Linked DNA regions of Homo sapiens: region 2 is linked to region 1. The links are contacts of gene promoters, found by promoter capture Hi-C in human tissues and cell types (Jung and others, 2019). All regions are on one chromosome and are shown on one strand. The core of a region is centred on a gene start or on the middle of the fragment in contact, and the rest is flanking DNA. Distances in the headings are between cores, read along the strand shown.

What was found. Contacts are between HindIII fragments. The study calls those that stand out against the background at their distance.
Region 2: a fragment that was not itself captured here is called in contact with the fragment with the promoter of SEMA5B in region 1 in 1 of the 25 tissues and cell types used here (liver).

What each region holds. Positions count from the first base shown.
Region 1 is chr3:123,026,221-123,032,718 of GRCh38, reverse strand. SEMA5B (semaphorin 5B) reads left to right here and starts at 4,956. Exons shown (of 23, transcript NM_001031702.4): 1 at 4,956-5,255. RefSeq lists an enhancer at 3,845-4,352. The HindIII fragment of the contact is 5,774 bases long and covers 2,598-6,498 here.
Region 2 is chr3:123,227,000-123,233,581 of GRCh38, reverse strand. The region is part of intron 4 of SEC22A (SEC22 homolog A, vesicle trafficking protein); the gene reads right to left. Among named protein-coding and RNA genes, the nearest start is that of SEC22A, 28 kb to the right of the region's middle. RefSeq lists a silencer at 4,223-4,423. The HindIII fragment of the contact is 6,296 bases long and covers 1-6,219 here.

The sequences.
Region 1 (6,498 bases), core at 3,707-6,206:
AACAAAAACCAAGCCCTGTTCTGTAAGCTGGGGCTATAGTGATGAACAAAGCAGGCAAGGCCTCTGCTCCTGTGGAATTTATATTCTGGTCAGGGGAGACAGACAATAAATATGTACAATGTCAGATGGTGATAATGACAAGTATTTGTCATTTTTGAAAAGATGGTAATACATCTCTGATGAATTGATATTTGAGCAGAGATTAAAGGAAGTGAGGAAATGACCTATGTGGACATTTGGCAAAAGAGCTTTCCAGGCAGAGAGAGCATCAAGTACAAAGGCCTTGAGGTGAGAGCCTTGGGTGTGTGAGGAATAGCAGAGAGGCTGGGGAAGCCTGAGAGAAGTGAGGATAGGGAGAGCGCTAGCAGATAATGTCAGACAGGCCTTGTGGGGCTGCTAAGGCTTTTTCTCTAGAGAGCTGGGGAGCCATAGAAGGTTTTTGAGCAGAGGAGTGATAGGATCTGAATTAGGACAGCTTCCGTGTGGAGAACAGACTGTAGGTACAAAGGTTAGAAATGGCAGAGCAAACATCCAGGGGAGAGAAGAGAGTGGTTTGAACTAGGGCACAAGTAGAAGAGGTGGGGAGAAATGGTAAGATTCTGAAAATATTTCAAAGATAGAGACGACAGGATTTATGGATGGTCTGAATGGAGGGTATGAAATGACTTCAAGCTTTTGACCTTGAGGAACTGGAAGAATGGAGTTTTTACTTACTAGGATGGGGAAGACTGAGGGAGGAGCTGGCTTGGAAAAACAAATCAGAAGTTAAGTGTTGGGTATGTTAAGATAGAGATGTCTCTTAGATGGTCATGCAGAGGAGGGGCAGGCAGTTGGTTCTATACATCCAGATTTTAAGAGAGAGCGAGAGGGCCGGAGCTGCAGATACAAACTTGGGCATCATCCGCACAGAGAGGTTTACAGCCAGTGACTGGACAAGCTTATCTAGGTCTTCAGTGTAGCTGTCTCCCTCACATGGCTGTGAAGGTCAAAGGGGATAGTATATGGCAAATAGTTTTGTAAACTGTAAAGTGCTATACACAAGGAAAGGAACAAGTGTGCAAATACGGTAAAGAGCATAATGTAGAGCAGGATTTAAAGAAGTATCTTCAGGTAGAGACAGAATCATAGAATACATGTGCAAGGAGAAGCTTACAAACCAGTGGATCAACCCCTTTCATTTTATCCAGGAGGAGCTAAGGTTGGAGAGATTAAGAGGCTTGTCCAAGGACACTCAGCTCATCAGTGGCCCAGCTCATCCTAGGACTGGGGAGCCCTAACTGCTGGTGCGGTGCTCTTTCCACCACATGAAACACCTGCTCACATTTACTGCTTCAGCTCTCTCTGAATCTGTTAACCAGGGGCAAGTAATTCTTCAAACAGAAATCTAATTATATCGCCTTGTGCTTTTATACATGCTACTTCCTCTGCCTGGAATACTCTGCCTCCTCCTGCTTCTCTGTCTGGCAAATTCCTGCCTTATCTTCCATTCTCAGCTAGAATGGCCATTTCCAATGAAGACTTCTTTGTCCTGTTTGGTAGGATGGTAACTGGCTCTCCATGTGCCCGCAGAGCTCCCATCCTGTGGCAGTCCTTGCATTTGCTATGATTACGTCTGCCTCCCCTGCCTGCCTGTGAAGCTCTTCCTATGACCTCTCTGCCTAGCTTAGTGAGTGACACTTAAATGGGAAGGAAGGAAGGAAGGAAGGAAGATCTCTTCTTTCACATTAGTTCAGGACAATGGCAAAGCAGTCATTCAGTGACACTTCAGTTCCTCTGACCTGAGCAAGGTTTTGGTTCACAAATTGACAATGACTTCTGGGGTGGGAATTTTCTTTTTTCTTTGCCATCCCCAGGCACAATGAGCAGGCAATTCTGGGAGCAGAAAACAATTTGGACATTATACGTGCTGTCTTTTTATTTTCAATTCTCTGTCTCCTATTAGTATATGACTGGCTGTTTGCCTTTTGCTGCAAGACAAGGTTTGTGTTTGTGCCTGGGCTATGCACAAGCATGTGTACACACACACACACACATAGAGGGGAGAGAGAGAGAGAGAGAGAGAGAGAGAGAGAGAGAGAGAGAGAGAGAGAGAGAGATGGCCTCTTGGGAGAGCCTGCACTCATTTTTTAGCTTTATCTCCCAGAAAATGCCCTCAGGTGGGAGGAAGAAGACAGTGTTGTGCTCCTAGCTTTTCCACCCTTTCCTGCTCTTGAGCATGAGAATTTGGATCTATTTCTTAAACTCTTTCAACCTTAGTTCAAGATAAGTTTGGAATTTCTAGGTCAAGAGTGAATCCTAAAAACTCCGTCACCCCCTATATTCACCGCTCTTTAGCTTGTTTGCTTGAGATAACACTGTGTTAATTACTATATTTCCATTCTGCTTAATTACAATGTTTCGGTAGAAGAAGAATTGCTCCTAACAGAAGCAATTATCTTATAGGTTATTGCAAAGGTCTAAGGAAGGTGGCAGAAGCTGGTTGTGATACTGTGGTGATGGAATCAATGCTCCAGGTTTTGTTCCAAGTAAATGATTCAGAGATTCTAACCAGGCTGGGTTTGCCAAAGAGCAGGTGGTAAGCCAGGCCAGTAAAGAAACTGTCTCTTCCGGAGGGTTGGGCTTCTGAAGCTCTCTTGTATTGAGAGCTCTTGAGTAATCACTGTTAATCAATACAATGCTTTAGGATGCAATTAGGATTAATTAGCCCAATGTTGCTAGCTGCCCTGCTACTTGGTCTGTCTCTTTGGGTGCCTCCTTGTCCTGGCTCCTGCTTCCCCTGAAAAGGAAAATTTCCCTCTTTGTGTCCCCAGCCTGGAGTCTCCTCTCTTCCCTTCCTGTGCCAAGCCCCCAAACCCCCTCTCCACTTTATAACATGGAGAGGGAGAGCCAGGAAAGGCCTTGACATGATAGTGGGAAGAAAAGAATGAACACAATCAAAACATGGTAGCAAACAAGAGGGCAGGTGAGAGAATGTGTGAAGGGTGGAGAATATTTTGGTTATCTTTCAAGGGAGAGCTGTGGCTGACAGAGCCACTCAGAAGGCATTTTGTCTATTCTCCCAACCAGACAAATTGGAAGCTCTCCTGTTCATTCCCTGGTCCTGCAGTATGGAATAGCTTCGTGGTTTTTTGTGTTAATTAAAAGGTATCTCTATATTGCACATACTTCTATTTTTTGTGATGACAAAAACATTCCCCATGGCTCTGCAGGGAATGGGGGTTGGGGGGGGGGCACGCTCATTGCAGTGGAAAGGTTCCACGGTGGAGATCAGGAGACCTATCCCTATCTCAGCCTGGGACTCTGGGAGAATGGTCCAGAGCTCATTGTCCTTGTTGATAAAATGATAGATTTGGACTCAATATCCCATGCTGCCTCTTCCAACTTGATTTTTACCCCAGACTGGGCTACCAGACTGGTATGCCCACACATGCCCGTTTCCTTTCTTTTCTTCTCTGCATCTCTGCCTTTGTGTCCAGAGCGTGTTTTCCCTTTGCAAGTTTCTCTCCATTCTGCACATTATGAGTTTCAGCATTTCTGTTGCCCTAGAAAGTCTATCTTTGAGATCTTGCACTGTTTCTCTTTTTACAGTGTCTCATAAACTCCCTTCTTGGATTCAGAACCACCCTTTCTTTCCCATTATCCTGTCAAACTGCTTCTTGCCATGGTCCAGGGGTAGGAGGATGGCAGGCAGGAGGTGCTTCTCTGGGGCTCTTAGTGTCTCAATTCTTCTGCTTTATCTGGGTTTTCCTTTACCCAGAATTTTATTATGTAAAATGCTTCACTCAGACTTTGTTCTAATTATCCAATTTTTGGCATACTCTAGAAAGTCTTTTGATATTTTCCTTCCTCCAACTTATCTATTTTTATTTCATAGTTCTCTTTGGTTATCTCTTAGAATCACACTTTCCTGGTTTTAATTTTTCAAATCCTTTGTCTTTCTCACTCGTTCTTAGGTCACCTTTTTTTACATTTTCAAATATATTTTTTGTTCAGCAGAGGGCTCCCTTCCCATCCCTCTTGCAGCCCGGGCAGCTAGGATTTGAAGCTTGCCCCTTGAATCTTTCTCTCCCGCCTTCTAGCCATCAGAAACACTAGATCACTTAAACTTGTAAACAATTCGGCCTCGCTCCTTGTGATTGCGCTAAACCTTCCGTCCTCAGCTGAGAACGCTCCACCACCTCCCCGGATCGCTCATCTCTTGGCTGCCCTCCCACTGTTCCTGATGTTATTTTACTCCCCGTATCCCCTACTCGTTCTTCACAATTCTGTAGGGTGCGTATTACTAACCCCAGTTTACAGCTGAGGAAACTGAGGCTTGGAGAGGTTCGCTCGGTATCGTACAGTTTGCAAGGTTAACCCTAATCCGGCCAGTTCTGGCTTTCCAGCCCAGCCCAGCAGCCTAGCCTCCCTCTCTGCCGCTGCAGGTTATAACGGCTCTCCCCCGTTTTACACGAGGTCCCTTCCCCTTCAAATCCACAGGCAGGAAGATCGTTCCGAACTGACGGGGCTGGGGAATGTGGGAGTCCGGAGTGGGGTTTGGGGGAGCTTCCTCAGGCCCTGAGTGTTGGGGTGGGCAGGCCGCGCCGATGGCCCTCGGGGATGTCACATTCGAGATGGGGTGACCGAGAACGGCAAGGCGGGATGTGGCAAACGGCGGCAAGTGCTCGGAGTCCTAGGTCTTGCCGCCGGAATGCCGGCCGGGGAAGGGGCTTCGGCCCACCGGGCTGGTCACCACACTCGGCAGGCCCGGGGCGGGAGTCGGCCGAGCAGCCGCGGGATGCAGGGCGCCCCCTCGCGCTCCTCCGCGCGCCTCGAGGCTGGCGGGTGCAGCGCCCGCCGCGGCAGGTCTGCTCCAGCCCCCTCCTCTTTTTCGCTCCCGCTCCCCTCCTTCTCTCCCTTTGCTTGCAACTCCTCCCCCACCGCCCCCTCCCTCCTTCTGCTCCCGCGGTCTCCTCCTCCCTGCTCTCTCCGAGCGCCGGGTCGGGAGCTAGTTGGAGCGCGGGGGTTGGTGCCAGAGCCCAGCTCCGCCGAGCCGGGCGGGTCGGCAGCGCATCCAGCGGCTGCTGGGAGCCCGAGCGCAGCGGGCGCGGGCCCGGGTGGGGACTGCACCGGAGCGCTGAGAGCTGGAGGCCGTTCCTGCGCGGCCGCCCCATTCCCAGACCGGCCGCCAGCCCATCTGGTTAGCTCCCGCCGCTCCGCGCCGCCCGGGAGTCGGGAGCCGCGGGGAACCGGGCACCTGCACCCGCCTCTGGGAGGTGAGTCCCGGGAGCCCCGGGCGCTTCCCCTGCGCGGGTTGGGGCTGCAACTTGCAAACTTCAGCAACTCGGGTGGGTATCGGGGTAGAGAGGTAGGGGTCCGGGCTCTGGCAAGTTGAAGCCAGGTAGGTGAGGCTGCGGGCGGGAGGACAGGGGGTCCCCTGGCTTCCGCGCCTCCCGCTGCCACCTCGGCTTGAGAGCCCTCATCGCTGCTGCGTTCCCGCCGCCAGCCAGCTTGGGTCCGGGTTGCACTGGGCCCTGCCAGGGCTGTGGTCGGCGCATCTGGGCTGCAGCGGCGATGGGGACCCGGGACCCAGGCCTGGAGAAGGAGACGGACGAGTGAGGCTGAGGGACGGAGGGACAGAGGTGCGGAGATGGAGGCTCAGAGAGGGCCGGCTAGTAAACAGCACTGAGGGAGAGTGCGGGCGGCGAGGCGCGTGGGAACGCGTGGCCCGCCCAGAGTGTGAAATCTCCCGCTCAGGGACGTCCCTGCTCCACCGCCGCCGCCTGCGGAGCCGCCGCCCGGATTCTTCCCAGACCCGCCTCCAGGACACTCTTGCCCTGACCAGGCCTGCGGAGCGTGAACTCTGCCCACCAGGCTCCAGGGGCAGTGGCTCAGGGCCCCGCACTCCCGGCTGGGAGGGTGGAGAGGGGTGCGGCAGCTGGAAGCAGGGACGCGAGCGGCGATTTCCCGATTTATGTTTCTCATGGTAATTTGTCTTTGTGGTTGGGGCTGCCCATTCACTTTCCGCTCACGTCCTGCGGGAGATCCAGCGAGGAGGGAGGGAGCGGGGGGCGCTCGGGCACAGAGAGGGATGCAGACGGGAGAGGGGATCGGGGACCCGCGCGGGGCGGGAGCCAAGAGGGAAGTGGTCGCCGGACCGGCGGAGGAAGAAGGCGAGGCTCGAGAAAACCCGGCCCAACGGAGCCGACTCCTTTGCCCACCGCAAACTTTAAACAAGGAGGAGGATCACCTGCAGCGCCGTTCTGGCCCCCTCCTCCCCGCCCCCGCCCCCCACCTCGAGCCCAGTCTTTGGGTAGTTCCGACTGCCCGCCGCGCCAGGCGGGAGTGGGCCGAGAGTCTGGATGGGGAGAGAGGAGCGCTGGATTCTGCCCGCACCCCTGCGATCCTGCCCAGGCTTTCTGCAGAGGGGCGGGGTGAGAGCAGCAGGAGCCGGGAGGGCGGGCTACCCTGGCATGCACTCCTTCCCGGCCAACGGAATTGGGACTGAGGGTTTGGAAG
Region 2 (6,582 bases), core at 1,822-4,321, 200 kb before region 1:
ATGTGTTTTTCATTTCTTATTCTATCAATATATTACATTAATTGATTTTTGGATGTTAAAGCAACCTTGCACACCTGAGATAAATCCCACTTGGTCAGGATTTATGCAGGTCATGCATCCTTTAACAATGGGGATACATTCTGAACAATGTGTCATTAGGTGATATTGCTGTGCAAACGTCATAGAGTGTATTTACACAAACCTAGATAGTATACCCTAATACATACCTAGGCTATATGGTATAGCCTATTGCTCCTGGGTTACAAACCTGTGCAGCATGTTATCGTACTGGCTACTGTAGACTACTGTAACACAATAGTATTTGTGTATCTAAACATAGAAAAGGTGCAGTAAAAATATGCTATTATAATCTTTTGAAATCACCACCATATATTCAGTCTATCACTGACAAAATGTTGTTATGTAGCACATAACTGTAATTTTTTCTTTTAGAGACATGGTCTTGCTCTGTCACCCAGGCTGGAGTGCAGTGGTGTCATCATTACTCACTGCAGCCTCAAACTCCTGGGCTCAAATGATTCTCCCACCTCAGCCTCCTGAGTTGCCGGGACTACACATGCATACCATCACGCTAATTTTTAAAAATTTTTTGTAGAGATGGGGTCTGCCTATGTTGTCCAGGCTGGTCTCAAACTCCTGGGCACAAGTGATCCTCCTGCCTCAGTCTCCCAAAGTGCTGGGATTATAGGCATGAACCACAGCGCCTGGCCTAATTTTTTAAATACGTTGCTGGATTGGGTTTGCTTGTATTTTGCTGAGGACTTTTGTGTCCATATTCATAAGATATATTGGTCTGCATTTTACTTTCTTTGTGATGACTTTGCCTGGTTTTGGTATTAGTATGATACCGGCCTCACAGAATACGGAAGTATTTTTTGTAGAGACAGTGTTGCACTACATTGTCCAGGCTGGTCTTGAACTCCTGAGCTCAAGCCATCTACCTGCTTCGGCCTCCCAAAGTGGTGGGATTACAGGTGTGAGCCACAGCATCTGGCCCTTTACTGTTTTTTTGGAACTGTTTGTAAATAACTGGTTATTAACTCTTCATTAACTGTTTGGTAAAAATCACCAGTAAATGTATCTGGGCCTGGAGTTTTCTTTGTGGGTAGTTTTTATTACTAATTGAATCTTTTTGCTTTTACAGATCTATTCATATTATCTTCTTGCATCATTACCAGTAGTTGGTGTTTTTCTAGGAATTTATCCATTTCATCAAAGTTATTGAATTTAATGGGAGACAGTTGTTTATAGTATTCTTTATAATCCTTTTTATTTCTAGAAGGTCAGTAGAAATGCCATCCTTTTCATTTCTTTTTTCTTTTAGACAGAGCCTCGCTCTATCACCCAGGGTGGAGTGCAGTGGTGTGATCTCAGCTCACTGCAACCTCCACCTCCCACGTTTTAAGCAATTCTCGTCCTCAGCCTCCTGAGCAGCTCGGATTACAGGCACGTGCCACCATGCTCAGCTAATTTTTTGTATTTTTAGTAGAAATGGGGTTTTGCTATGTTGGCCAGGCTAGTCTTGAACTCCTGGCTTCAAGTGATGCATCCACCTCAGCCTTCCAAAGTGTTGGGGTTGCAGGCATGAGCCACCGTGCCTGGCCCCTTCATTTCTAATTTGAGTAATTATTTTCTGGGTCAATCTAGCTAAGGGTTTGTCAGTTTTTTCAAAGAACCAACTTTTGGTTTTGTTGATTTTTCTCTACTGTTTTCCTATCCTCTATTTCATTTGTTTCTGTTCTAATCGTTATTTCCTTCCTTCTGTTTGCTTTAGGTTTAATTTGCTTTTCTTTTTCCATTATCTTTAAGTGGAAAGTTGTCTTCAAATCTGGTTTTTGTTTTTTTAAACATAGGCATTTACAGCGATAAATTTTCCTCTAAATTTAGCTTTTGCTACTACATCCTGTAAGTTTTGGTATGCTGAATCTTCATTTTCATTCATCTCAAAGTACGCATTTCCCTTTTGATTTAGTCTCTGACCCATTCACTATTTAGGAATGTACTGTCTAACTTCCACATATTTGTGAGTTTCCCAAATTTCTTTCTGTTTTCACTTCTAATTTCATCTAATGTAGCTGGAGAACATACTTTGTACTATTTCTATCCTTTTAAATTTATGAAGGTTTTGTTTTTCTTTTTGTTTTGTTTAGCTTAGCATAAGGTCTATCCTGGAGAATAGTTCACATGCACTTGAGAAGAACATAAATTCTGTTGTTAAATGGAGTATCCTAATAGATGTCTGTTATGTCTCACTGGCATATGGTGGTGCAGGTGTTCAAGTCTTCTATTTTCTTATCTTCTGCCTAATTGTTCTATCCATGATTGAAAGTTGTGTATTTAAGTCTCCAACTACCATTGTTCAATTGTCTATTTCTGTATTCACTTCTGGCAGGTTTTACTTAATGTACTTTGGGGCTCTGTTGTTAAATGCATGTATGTTTATAGCTCTATCTTAATTGATTCACCCTTTTATCATTATAAAATGTCATGCTTTACCTCTCATACCAATGTTTGTCGTAAAGTCCATTTTGTCTGATATTAGTATTGGTACTCCAGCTCTCTTTTCCTCTTCATTTATCTTTTTTTATCCTTTGACTTTCAATCTATTTGTATATTTGAATCTAAGGTATGTCTCCTGAAGACAACATATAGTTGCATCTTGTGTTTTTATTTTTACTCCAATCTTACAATCTCCATCTTTTGACTGGATTATTTAATATATTAACACTTTTTAAATCCATTCATATATAACATTATTACTGATATAGATTTACATCTGCCATTTTTTCCCTTTTTTCTTATCCATCTCATGCCTTTTTTGGCTCTATCCCTCCTTCACTTTTTTTTTTTTTTTTTTTTTTGCATGAAGTGAATATTTGGTAGTACGGTATTTTACTTTAATAATTTTTCACTACTTTTTATTTGCTTTGTGGTTGCTCTAAGCTTACCATGTACATCTTAACTGCAAGAATTTATACTATATTCTAATGAGCCACAGAAACATTACTCCTATATAGCTCTATTCCCTTTATCTCCTTTTTGTGGTATTGCTGTTATACATATCAATAAACATCACAAACTCCATAATGCATTGTTATAAATTATGACCTTCTATAATTTTATGTCTTCCAAAAATGCTAAGAAAGGATAGTAATTATATGTTTATAGCTCTTGTTAATATTTATCTTATCTTTCTGGCTTCCTTCATTAGTTCCTGTTGATTTGAATTATCATCTGGAGTAATTTCCTTATCCCAGTACAACTTTAATACCACCCATGTCCTTTTTGCTGTATGCGAAAACATATTACATTTCTATATGTTATAGGCCCAAATGACATTATATATACACTGTTTTATATGATCACTTTTTAAATCAGTTAAGAGTAGAGAGTAGAAGAAAAATGCATTAATGTATTTTTACGAGTCAGAGTCTTGCTCTACTGCCCAGGCTGGAGGGCAGCCTACCTCACTGCAACCTCAAATTCCTGGGCTCATGGGATCCTCCCACTTTGGCCTCCCAAAGTATTAAGATTACAGGCATGAGCCACCACACCGGGCCTTTACTGTCTTTTTTAATTACTTAATTACATTTACCCTTGTTCTTTGCTTTTTTTCAAATGGATTCAAATTATTTTCTAGGGTCACTTGTTTTCATCCTAAAGAATTTCCATTATTATTATTATTTATTTTTTTTTTTTGAGATGAAGTCTTGCTCTGTTGCCCAGGCTGGAGCACAGTGGCGCGATCTCGGCTCACGGCAATCTCCGCCTCCCGGGTTCAAGCAATTCTCCTGCCTCAGCCTCCTGAGTAGCTGGGATTACAGGCGTGTGGCACCATGCTCAGCTAATTTTTGTATTTTAGGTAGAGACGGGGTTTCACCATGTTGGCCAGGCTGGTCTTGAACTCCTGACCTCGTGATCTGCCCGCCTCAGCCTCCCAAAGTGTTGGGATTACAGGCGTAAGCCACAACATGCAGCCAAGAATTTCCTTTATTATTTCTTATAAGGTGTTTCTGCTAGTAACGAATTCTCTTATCTTTCATTTATCTGTAAATATCTTTACTTTGCCTTCATTTTTTTAAAAGATAACTTTGCTAGATATAAGATTCTTGGTTACTGGTAGTTTTTATTTTCTTTCTTTCAGCAATTTGTATGTCATTCCATTGCCTACTAGTCTCTATTGGTTCTGCTAAGAAGTCAGCTGTTAATCTTATTGAGGTTCACTGTAAGTGATGAGTTTTGGTTTCCTTTTAACTTTTATTTTAGGTTCAGGGACAGGTTTGTTATACAGGTAAACTCATGTAAGTGACAAGTTCTTTTTCTCTTGCTGATTTCAAGACTTTCTCCTTGTCTTTAGTTTTCAGCATTTTACTATGATTCATCTATTTGTGGATCTCGTGTGTATCCCATTTGGAGTTCACTGAGCTTCCTGCAAGAGCAGACTAATGTTCTTCAGTAAATCTGGGAACTTTTCAGCCATTATTTCCTCAAATATTTTTTCTGCTTTTTCTCCCCCTTCTTCTTCGGTATCCTATCACACCTATGTTAGCATGCCCCATTTTTTTGAGGTTCCATTCATTTTTCTTCATTCTTTTTTCTGTTTTTCAGATTAGATAATCTCTATCAATCTATCTTCAAATTGCTAACTCTTCTGCCAGTTCAAATCTATTGTTACGCCCTTCTAGTGAATTTTTCATTTTAGTAATTTTACTTAATTCCAGAATTTCCACTGTGTTTTTTAAAAATAATTTCTCTTTATTGGTATTGTCTATTTGATGCAACATTATCATACCTCCCCCTTTACTCCTTTAATAGTTTCCTTTAGTCTTTGAACATGATTATAATGACTACTTTGAAGCCTCTGTCTGTTAAATCTGACAGCTGATTGCTCTCAGAGGCAGTTTCTGTTACCTACATTCTGTCCCCTCTACCCCATGCCCACAGTGTGTGGGTCATATTTTCTTTCTTTTTTTTTTTTTTTTTTGAGATGGAGTTTTCGCTCTCGTTGCCCAGGCTAGAGTGCAATGGTGCAATCTCAGCTCACTGCCACCTCCGCCTCCTGGGTTCAAGCAATTCCCCTGCCTCAGCCTCTCGTGTAGCTGGGATTACAGGCATGTGCCACCCTGCCCAACTAATTTTTTTTTTTTTTTTTTTTTTTAGTAGAGACGGGATTTCTCCATGTTGGTCAGGCTGGTCGTGAACTCCCAACCCCAGGAGATCCGCCCGCCTTGGCCTCCCAAATGCTGGGATTATAGGTGTGAGCCTCCACACCTGGCCATATTTTCCTGTTTCTTTGCATGTCTTATAATTTACTGGAAATTGGACATTTTAGATAACATATTGTAACAATGTGGGTACTAGCCCACTCTCCCCCTACCACCCCTGACCAACTGGGCTTGTTATTGTTATCTGCTTGTTTACTAACTGACTGGATTATTTTAATGAAATTTGTTACCCTCTTCTCCCACATTTGTATGTGAAGTGTTGTATTCAGTCCAAATTTAAAGAATATTAACAAACTAAAGCATGTCTAGAGGAAGCTTCTAGGATGGGGAGAACTTGAAATGCCATAAATGAAAAGGCTAAGTGAACTGGAGTTTTTTTTTTTTTTTTCTGATGGAGCTCGCTTTGTCACCCAGGCTGGAGTGCAGTGGTACGATCTCAGCTCATTGCAACCTCTGCCTCCTGGATTCAAGCAATTCTCTGCCTCAGTCTCCCGAGTAACTGGGATTACAGGTGCCTGCCACCACACTCAGCTAATTTTTGTATTTTTAGTAGAGACAGGGTTTCACCATCTTGGCCAGGCTGGTCTTGAACTCCTGACCTCGTGATTCAAAAAGGTGCATGTTTGTTGCAGTTTAATTGAAAATTTTGCCCTTTGTCAATATACAATGATAAATGTGTTTGCTTTGTATTCTATAGTTGATATTGTCTTACATTTTTATTTCTTTTTTTATTATACTTTAAGTTCTGAGATACATGTGCAAAACGTGCAGGTTTGTTACATAAGTATACATGTGCCATGGTGGTTTGCCACATCCATCAACCCATCATCTATATTAGGTATTTCTCCTAATGCTATCCCTCCCCTTGCCCCCAACCCCTTGACAGGCCCCCGTGTGTGATGTTCCCCTCCCTGTGTCCATGTGTTCTCATTGGTGAATTGGAGATATTTATATGAAGTAGACTAGTCTAAGAGGATGGAAAGGACACACAGTTGCTGACTTAACTGTTATTCTGGTTCTGCTGAAGGAAGGGAGGAACAGATCACAAAACAAACTAGTAGACATAGGGAAGCTGACTTTAGCTCAATTATATAAGGAAGTTTTTTTTTTTTCCTAAAGCCTTAGGTTGGAATAATTTTCTTAAACAAATAGTCTGACAATGGCATATGCTACCTTATAAAATAATGAGGTGTTCATTTTAAGCAAAAGTTTATATCATTTCACAACTGTTGACGATAGTATTCCTTCTTTGGGATGGGAGGTTTGAGCAGACGATCACTAAAGTATTTACACCTTCCGTGACAGTCAAGAACACTGGCCTTGAATGTAGCCATTT